Linked DNA regions of Homo sapiens: region 1 is linked to region 2. Evidence: promoter capture Hi-C in human tissues and cell types (Jung and others, 2019). All regions are on one chromosome and are shown on one strand. Each heading gives the region's core, a stretch centred on a gene start or on the middle of the fragment in contact. The rest is flanking DNA. Distances are from core to core; before and after follow the strand shown. Region 1 holds the start of LOC124904418 (a long non-coding RNA gene). Region 2 holds the start of VPS72 (vacuolar protein sorting 72 homolog).

The links. Contacts are between HindIII fragments. The study calls those that stand out against the background at their distance.
Region 1: a fragment that was not itself captured here is called in contact with the fragment with the promoter of VPS72 in region 2 in 1 of the 25 tissues and cell types used here (heart left ventricle).

The regions. Positions count from the first base shown.
Region 1 is chr1:151,125,165-151,129,737 of GRCh38, reverse strand. GABPB2 (GA binding protein transcription factor subunit beta 2) reads right to left here. Exons shown (of 9, transcript NM_144618.3): 9 at 4,196-4,573. It overlaps LOC124904418 (a long non-coding RNA gene), which reads right to left and starts at 524. Exons shown (of 2, transcript XR_007066619.1): 1 at 325-524; 2 at 1-229. The HindIII fragment of the contact is 3,145 bases long and covers 561-3,705 here.
Region 2 is chr1:151,188,149-151,192,669 of GRCh38, reverse strand. VPS72 (vacuolar protein sorting 72 homolog) reads left to right here and starts at 2,473. Exons shown (of 6, transcript NM_005997.3): 1 at 2,473-2,665. The coding sequence starts at 2,549. RefSeq lists enhancers at 2,329-2,388, 2,429-2,498. The HindIII fragment of the contact is 20,238 bases long and covers 1-4,521 here.

The DNA of each region.
Region 1 (4,573 bases), core at 884-3,383, 63 kb after region 2:
TTCCATCAGTTTGTGTAAGGCTTTGGGGACTTGAATCACAGAAGGTTCCACAGTCACAGAGCTTGAAAAGCTGTTCAGCATCTTGGGTTCTTTGGGGGCTAAGTCACAGGGGCCTGAGATATTATTGTCTCTCAGGTTTTTAACTCCTTGATGTCACTGTCCCATCCATGAGAACCACACAGGTATGCGTCACTCTCTGCTACTTAATCCAGCAGTTGACCCTTCAGAACTGTTGGCTCATAAGAATATAAGGTTATATGTATGAGAGTAAGGTTCAAGTACATGGATAAAATATGAAGCCTGTAAATCGAAAAGATCACCTACCTTTACCAGGTGTATCAGACAGGGTCCCAACAGGAAATAACATTCTCAAAATAATGAAGGGCTATTTTGAAAGGTATGGGCAAAGGATAGGTCAGTAACTGGAGGCTAATAACTGTATTAGGCCTAAAAGGATAAAAGGAGTTATTAGTTTCTAGGTCCTGGAGGGGGAGAGTGCCTTGAGAGAAGCAGTGACTTTTTTTTTTTTTTTTTTTTTTTTTTGCGATACAGTTGCTGGAGTGCAGTGGTGTGATCTTAGCTCACCAAAACCTCCGCCTCCCAGGTTCAAGTGATTTTCGTGCCTCAGCTTCCCGAGTAGCTGAGATTACAGGAGTGCACCACTGTGCCTGGCAAATGTCAATACATCGACTTCAGTCTTTTCTCTTCCCCCAGTCTCCTGTCAGGGCTCCCTATTGGCTGAATCCAACTGGAGGCCAAAGCACAGGAAGCCCATTGATGTTCATATAGGTCAGTCTCCCAGGACAGAGAACAGGCTACAGAATAGAGGAGCGTAATCTGGAAGGAAAGAAAGAAAACATCCAGCATACCTAGAGATGAAGACCCTATTCATTCCCCACAAGAGAGATTATTTTTTACTCTTCTTGCTCAAGTATTGCTGGCCAGAAACTCTATGCAGATACCCCCAAATTAGTTTTGGAGCAAAATTTACTTTGGGGAGCTTATAGGAAATGCTGCTTGGATCATATTTTTCTTCTCAGTTTCTTTTTTTTTTTTTTGAGACAGAGTCTTGCTCTGTCGCCCAGGCTGGAGTGCAGTGGTGCAATCTCGGCTCTCTCAGCTCACTGCAATCTCTGCCTCCTGGGTTCAAGCCTCCTGCCTCAGCCTCCCGAGTAGCTGGGATTACAGGGATGTGCCACCATGCCCGGCTAATTTTTGTATTTTCAGTAGAGATGGGGTTTCACCATGTTGGCCAGGCTGGTCTCGAACTCCCAACCTCAGGTGATCTGCCCGAGTTTGGCTTTTTTTTTTTTTTTTTTTTTTCCGAGATAGTGTCTCACTCTGTCACCCAGGCTGGAGTGCAGTGGTGCAACTGCGGCTCACTGCAAGCTCCGCCTCCTGCCTCAGCCTCCTGAGTAGCTGGGACTACAGGCGCCTGCCACCACACCCAGTTAATCTTTGTGTTTTTAGTAGAGACAGGTTTTCACCATGTTAGCCAGGATGGTCTCAATTTCCTGACCTCGTGATCCGCCGGCCTTGGCCTCCCAAAGTGCTGGGATTACGGGCCACGGCACCCGGCCCTCAGTTTCTTAAATGCAAATCTGAGATGAATTAAGCTGCCCAAGGCTAGTGAATAAAATAGCATTCTGACAAAAGGGAAATCACAGAGGAAAGTACACTAATTAACTCAATGTAGAAACTGTAGTTTTAGAAAGAACAATTTTAGCCAGGGTGCCATGGCTCACGCCTATAATTCCAACAGTTTGGGAAGGTAAGGCAGGTGGATCCCTTGAGCTCAGGAGTTCAAGACCAGCCTGGGCAACATGGTGAAACCCTGTCTCTACCAAAAATACAAAAATTAGCCAGGCATGGTGGTGTGCACCTGTAGTCCCAGCTTCTCAGTAGGCTGAGGTGGAGGATTGCTTGAGACCTGGAGGTCGAAGGTCGAGGCTGCAGTGAGCCAAGATCATGCCACTGCACTCCAGCCTGGGCAAGAGTGAGACCCTGTCTTTAAAAAGAAAAAAAAAAAAGGACAATTTTTACAAGTGTGTGACTCTGCAAAGTCAACCTATTTTTACAACTATATGATGAGGATAATACTCACCTTACAAGATGGGTATTTATATGTATATGCAGAGTACCTAGCACATTGCCAGACATGTAGCAAAAGCTTAAAACATGGTGGCTATTGTTATTTATAATTTTGGGCCCTTTCCCAAACTTTCCTTTCCTTTACAGCACTACCCTTAAACTTTAGGACTGGTTATAGGAGCAGACTGCAACCCCACACTTTTGTTCAGAAGTCTCCCATAGTCTTAACTTACTCAATTACCTATCAAATGTCTTGCACAAGCCTTACACAGGTGTAGTTATCACTGGGTTGCTCCCACTTCAGCCTTCACCTGTATTTTTTACCTATTGATCTCCTTGGAGTAGAGGGTTCTTTTTTACAGAGGAAGGAAGTCTTAGGAAAGTTGCCCTAGTTCATAATTTTTCCCATTACTTAAGACTATCACCCAGCCGGGCACGGTGGCTCACACCTGTAAGCCCAGCACTTTGGGAGGCCAGTGCGGGTGGATCACCTGAGGTCAGGAGTTCAAGACCAGCCTGGCCAACATGGTGAAACCCCGTCTCTACTAAAAATACAAAAATTAGCTGAGTGTAGTGGTGCATGCCTGTAATCCCAGCTAATAGGGAAGCTGAGGCAGGAGAATCACTTGAACCTGGGAGGCAGAGGCTGCAGTGAGCCAAGATCATGCCACCGCACTCCAGCCTGGGCAACAGTGTGAGACTCTGTCTCAAAAAAAAAAAAAAAAAAAAAAGAGTATCACCCATCAGAGAACTCTAGGTTCCTATCTCTCTAGTTCCCTCCAACTTTCCCATCTTGATGATTTCTCTCACCAGGATTTAATTCAACAAGATTTTTAGTTCTTTGGTTCTTAAGGCTCCACAAGTTCCTGCTTTTTTTTCTGTCAGCACAGCCAAGACTATATATATTAATAAAGTACCTGCCAGAATTACTTTCTATTACTTGAATATGTGCACAGCATTTGCTGACTATATGTATTTACCAAAAAGAAATTATCTACATGTACCCTAGTACATGGTAGGTGTCCAATTTCCTAAATATTGACTTTGAGAACTTACTTGAGATTCCAGTCGCTGAACACAGATGCTTATATGTCCTTAGCTTTGGACAGGCTCAAAGCTAATTTTGTAAAGAAAGGTATCCTTCTTGCCAACAAAACAGCTTTTCAGAACTCTATACACTAGATAGGATACCCATCTTGCTAGTCAAATTGGTCTGTTCACCCCGGCTATCAATGGGGATTGTGCTACTATCAGACTGATCCTCCTATTTTTAAATATAAATGTGTGCTGATTTTGGACTAAGATAGCAGCAAGCACCCTATTAACCAAGAATAGCTGAGAAGCTGGCAAAGTAAATCTACTCTTTCCAAGCACTCCTGAGTCTGATGTTTTTCCCCATACGTCTCAGTATTGACTTTACTCCCACACAAGGCACATAATCATTTTCTTCAGCTACTTTTCTCCTCCCTTGGTTGTTTGCTTTTAGGGAAGGGAGTGGGGAATGAGAGAAAGAAGGAAAATGTACATTTAACAAGCTGGTCAAAAGCTCTCCTCATTCTCATTTCATTTCTTACCTCAACTTGCTCTGCCTGTCAAGAATACCAGGCTGAGAGCGGTGGATAAGGAAAAGGCAATGGCCATGCATGGGTTAGTAGATCTATACCCCTCCCCCTTCAGTTAGCTCAGTTGGACAGGGAAAATGAGCTCTGTGGTTCACCTGTCATTAGAGAATAGATACAAATTTGGCCGGGCTCGGTGGCTCACGCCTGTAATCCCAGCACTTTGGGAGGCCGAGGCGGGCGGATCACGAGGTCAGGAGATCGAGACCATCCCGGCTAAAACGGTGAAACCCCGTCTCTACTAAAAATACAAAAAAATTAGCCGGACGTAGTGGCGGGCGCCTGTAGTCCCAGCTACTTGGGAGGCTGACGCAGGAGAATGGCGTGAACCCGGGAGGCGGAGCTTGCAGTGAGCCGAGATCCCGCCACTGCACTCCAGCCTGGGCGACAGAGCGAGACTCCGTCTCAAAAAAAAAAAAAAAAAAGAGAATAGATACAAATTTTGCCCAGGAGATGAAAACAAATTCAATGACACCCTGAAATGGTCGGCTTTGACATTTTATTGAGAAACATTTTTATTTTAAATGATAGTACAAAAACTGTATATATAATATAGATCTGTATAAGTATATATACATACAAATGCTCATACACACATATACACACAAACTTGCTCATCAGAATAAAACCCTAAATAAAGAAGTATATTTAAGTTTTTCTAAAAATACGCTGTACATAAAGCTGTCAGACAACCTGAAAAACTGAGGACATTGTGAGAACAGTCTGGGCGCATCCCCCCACACACACACCTGCCGCAGTACACACACAAATGGCCTTGACAGAAGGACAGCACATGGGGCAAGGTCAGGGAGAGAGCTGCTACCATCATTGTTGCTAGAACAAGATGTCTAAAGCCAACTAGA
Region 2 (4,521 bases), core at 1,224-3,723:
GCCAACGTGCTCGGCTAATTTTTGTATTTTTAGTAGAGATGGGGTTTCGCCATGTTGGCCAGGCTAGTCTCAAACTCCTGATCTAAGGTGATCTGCCCACTTCAGCCTCCCAAAGTTTTGGGATTACAGGTGTGAGCCACCACACCCGGCCAAGAACACTAGAATTTATTCCTCCTATCTAAATGTAATTTGGGGCCAAGCGAGGTGGCTCACACCTGTAATCCCAGCACATTGAGAGGCTGAGGAGTGGGGATCACTTGAGCTCAGGTGATCACCGTGGGCAACATGATGAAATCTCATCTCCACAAAAAGTACAAAAAATTAGCCAGGCGTGGTGACACGAGCCTGTAGTTCCAGCTACCCACGAGGCTGAGGTGCGATGATCACTTGAACCCAGGAGGTCGAGACTGCAGTGAGCAGTGATTGCATCACTGTATTCCAGCCTGGGTGACAAAGTGAGATCCTATCTCAAACAAACAAACAAACGAACAAACAAATGTAATTGGGGGCCAGTGTGGTGGCTCACAGCTGTAATCCTAGCACTTTTGGAAGCCAAGGTGGGAGGACAGCTTGAGCCCAGGAGGTCAAGGAGGCAGTGAGCCATGATCCTGCTGCTGCACTCCAGCCTGGGCAATAGAGACCCTGTCTCAAAAAAAATTGTAATTTTGTGTCTTTTTTTTTTTTCTTTTGAGATGGAGTCTTGCTCTGTTGCCAGGCTGGAGTGCAGTGGCACAATCTCAGCTCACTGCAACCTCTGCCTCCCGGGTTCAAGCGATTCTCCTGCCTCAGCCTCCCTAGTAGCTGGGACTACAGGTGCGCGCCACCACACCCAGCTAATTTTTGTATTTGTAGTAGATACGGGGTTTCACCATGTTGGCCAGGATGGTCACAATCTCTTGACCTCGGGATCTGCCCGCTTCAGCCTCCCAAAGTGCTGGGATTACAGGTGTGAGCCACTGTGCCAGGCCCAATTTTGTCTTTTTTTTTTTTCTGAGACGGAGTCTTGCTCTGTTTCCCAGGCTGGAGAGCAAATGGCGCGATCTCGGCTCACTGCAACCTCCGCCTCCCGAGTTCAAGCAATTCTCTGCCTCAGCCTCTCGAGTATCTGGGATAACAGGCGCCCACCACCACGACCAGCTAATTTTTGTATTTTTAGTAGAGATGGGGTTTCGCCATCTTGGCCAGGCTGGTCGTGAACTCCTGACCTCATGATCCACCCCCTTCGGCCTCCCAAAGTGCTGGGATTACAGGTGTGAGCCACAATTTTGTGTCTTTTAACAAATCTTTCCCTGTCCCTTCCTTCCCCCTGCTCTTCCCAGCCTCCAGTATCCTCTGTTCTTTCACTTCTATGAAATCAACTTTTTAAAAGCGTCACATATGAGTGAGAACATGCAGTGTTTTAACTTTCTGTTCGTGGCTTAAGTCAGTTAACATGTCCTCCAGTTCCATCCATGTTGCTGCAAATGACAGGATTTTCTTCTTTTTAATGGCTGAAAAGTATTCCATTGTGTATATACACCCTATTTCCTTTATTCATCTGTTGTTGGACACAGAGATTGATTTCCTATTTTGGCTACTCTAAGTAGTGCTGCAATAAATATGGGGGTGCATAAATATGGAGTGCAGACGTCTCTTGGATATACTGATTTCCTTTTTTTTTTTCCTCCTAAATTGGCTTCCTCAGGTTGAATTATGTCCTTTCCTTTGGATAAATGTCTATGGCTGTGTTTTTAACCACAATACTATGCTTCCTTCCTCAAGGATTTTTGACTTTATCTTGTAGATGATGTGGAGCCATTAAAAATGTTTGAGGACAGGAGTGGCAAAACGTGGGTTTTTAGAAAGTTTCCTACTAGCAGCAGTGTAGAAAATGGACTGGAGCGGAGAGAATGACCTCTTCTAAAAGAAAATGTGAGCTGGGGGCGCAGGCTTATGCCTGTAATCCCAGCACTTTGGGAGGCCGAAGCGGGCGGATCACCTGAGGTCAGGAGTTCGAGACCAGCCTGGCCAACACGGTGAAAGCTGTCTCTACTAAAAATACAAAAATTAGTTGGGCATGGTGGCGGGCGCCTGTAATCCCAGCTACTCGGGGGACTGAGGCAGGAGAATCGCTTCAGCCCGGGGGACGGAGGTTGCAGTGAGCCGAGATCGTGCCACTGCACTCCAGTCTGGCGACAGAGCGAGGCGAGACTCCGTCCCTACGGAAAAAAAAAACCATATATATATATAAAATAAAAATAAATAAAATAAAATGTGTTGACTTAGGGTTATGGGGGTCTTCGTACCACCAAGTGGACTCATTGAGCAAGGGAGATCGCTGGGTACTAGAGCAAGCGGCCTAGAGCATCCGCGCAGGAGTAGGAGAGGCTGAAGAGTAAAGAGGGTTTAGAGGGTGGGACTGGGAGTCTCTCGACACTCTGTTACTTCTGCCTGTAAACGCCCGACTTCCGCCGCTGGTGGCCACCCGCAGGTAGTGATGTCGAGCGTCGAGCTCCCAAAACCGAGCTGGTGAGGGGCTGCAGGTGGCGGCGCAGTCTCGGTAGGCGGTATGAGTTTGGCTGGGGGCCGGGCACCCCGGAAGACCGCTGGGAACCGGCTTTCTGGGCTTTTGGAGGCAGAGGAGGAAGATGAGTTCTACCAGACGACTTATGGGGGTTTCACAGAGGCAAGATCCGGGCCTGGGAAAAGGGAGGGGAGGAGGCAAAGAGGAGCCCTGAAGGGAGAAACCCCGGACAAAGAAGAAGAGGGCGGGGAATAGAGAGGAGCTCTGGGAGCTGATACTCGAGTTGGGTGGGTGAATCGGAGCCGGGGGGCGAGGCGGGGGAACGGATAGTGTGGAGTCCTAGAAGGGAGAGCTCTGGATGGGGTCAAAGGGGCCTGAGACGGAGAAGCTCTCCGGAGGCACTCCAGAGAACAGAGAACGGCAGAAACCTACCGTATACTTGCGTGGTTGCATCTTTCACTGTACTTCTGACGTCCAGCATACACGAGGCACACACATAGTAGTAGACAGTTGCTCGATGTATACTCGTTGGCCCACTGCTGGATTATTCACCTGAGACATGGAAAGGAACCGCTCCAAAAGTAGAGGAGCTTAGCCCACTTCTTTTTCAGCTTTCAGGTCTCAGTGTAAATGTTTTCTCAGGAAGATAACCCTTCCTTGACTATCCTAACAAGTGTCCCCATTTATTTCTTCCACAGAACATATTTCAATTTGCAATTAGATTTGGTTTGCTTACTTGCTTATGCTTTTCTATTGCATTGTAAACTGTATAAAGTTAGAGATGGTCTGTTTTGTTCAACATTATGTGTGAGGTGTCCGGACTGGGCTGCCACTTGCTAAATTTTTATTAGTTGAATCTACCCGTTTATTAAATGTGTTGAGTACCCAGAGCATGCCATCGGTAATAGGTTGTTTTAGGCTCTAGGGAAACAGAATATTAAAAACAGTGCTCTGTCCTTACATACTCCATGCCCCAGTGGGGTAACTGCCTGGGTTAACAGTTAAAATACTGTGTGATAGGCCGAGCACAGTGGCTTTGGCCGGGCACAGTGGCTCACGCCTGTAATCCCAGCACTTTGGAAGGCCGAGGCGGGTGGATCACAAGGTCAGGAAATCGAGACCATCCTGGCCAACATGGTAAAACCCCCTGTCTCTATTAAAATACAAAAATTAGCCAAGCGTGGTGGTGTGCGCCTATAGTCCCAGCTACTCAGGAGGCTGAGGCAGAGAATCGCTTGAACCTGGGAGGAGGAGGTTGCAGTGAGCCGAGATCGTACCACTGCACTCCAGCCTGGGCGACAGAGCAGGACTCCGTCTCAAAAACAAACAAAAAATGTGTGATAAGGACTAAAACAAGGTGTAAGAGTGTTAAGGTAATACATCTGAACCAAAGTTGTTGATCAGGATAGGCATCCCTGGAGGGATGATGTTTAAGCTGAGGACAGTTTGAAAAGTAGACCTTAGCTTGATGAAAAGCAGGAGAAGGAGAAAGGTTAGTCCACAGAGCAGGATGGGCTGAGTATGTAAAGACATTGAGATCCTGGTCTAGGACCTGCAAGTCTACTTTCATTCTCCAGAGCATGAAGGAGACTAAAGATTGATAAGCCTGCAGGGAGTAGGCATGGGCCAGATCCTTTAGGGCCTTGTGAGCTATGTTAAGGAATTTTGCTCTTCATCCAGAGGACTGAGAAGAGTCATCAGAATTCCACGATGAAATTTGTACTTTAGGAAGGTTACTTACTCTGTAATGAGAATGGCTTGAAGGGGGCATGGCAGTAGAGAAACAGAAAGATTCAAGAGAAATTAAGGAATAGAACCCACAGGACTTAGGGGCTGGGTGTGGTGGCTCACGCCTGTAATTCCAGCACTTTGGGAGGCTGAGGCGGGTGGATCACGAGGTCAGGAGTTCGAGACCAGCCTGACCAACATGGTGAAACCCTGTCACTACTAAAAATGCAAAAAATTAGCTGGTTGTGGTGGCGTGTGCCTGTAATTCCAGCTACTTAGGAGGCTGAGGC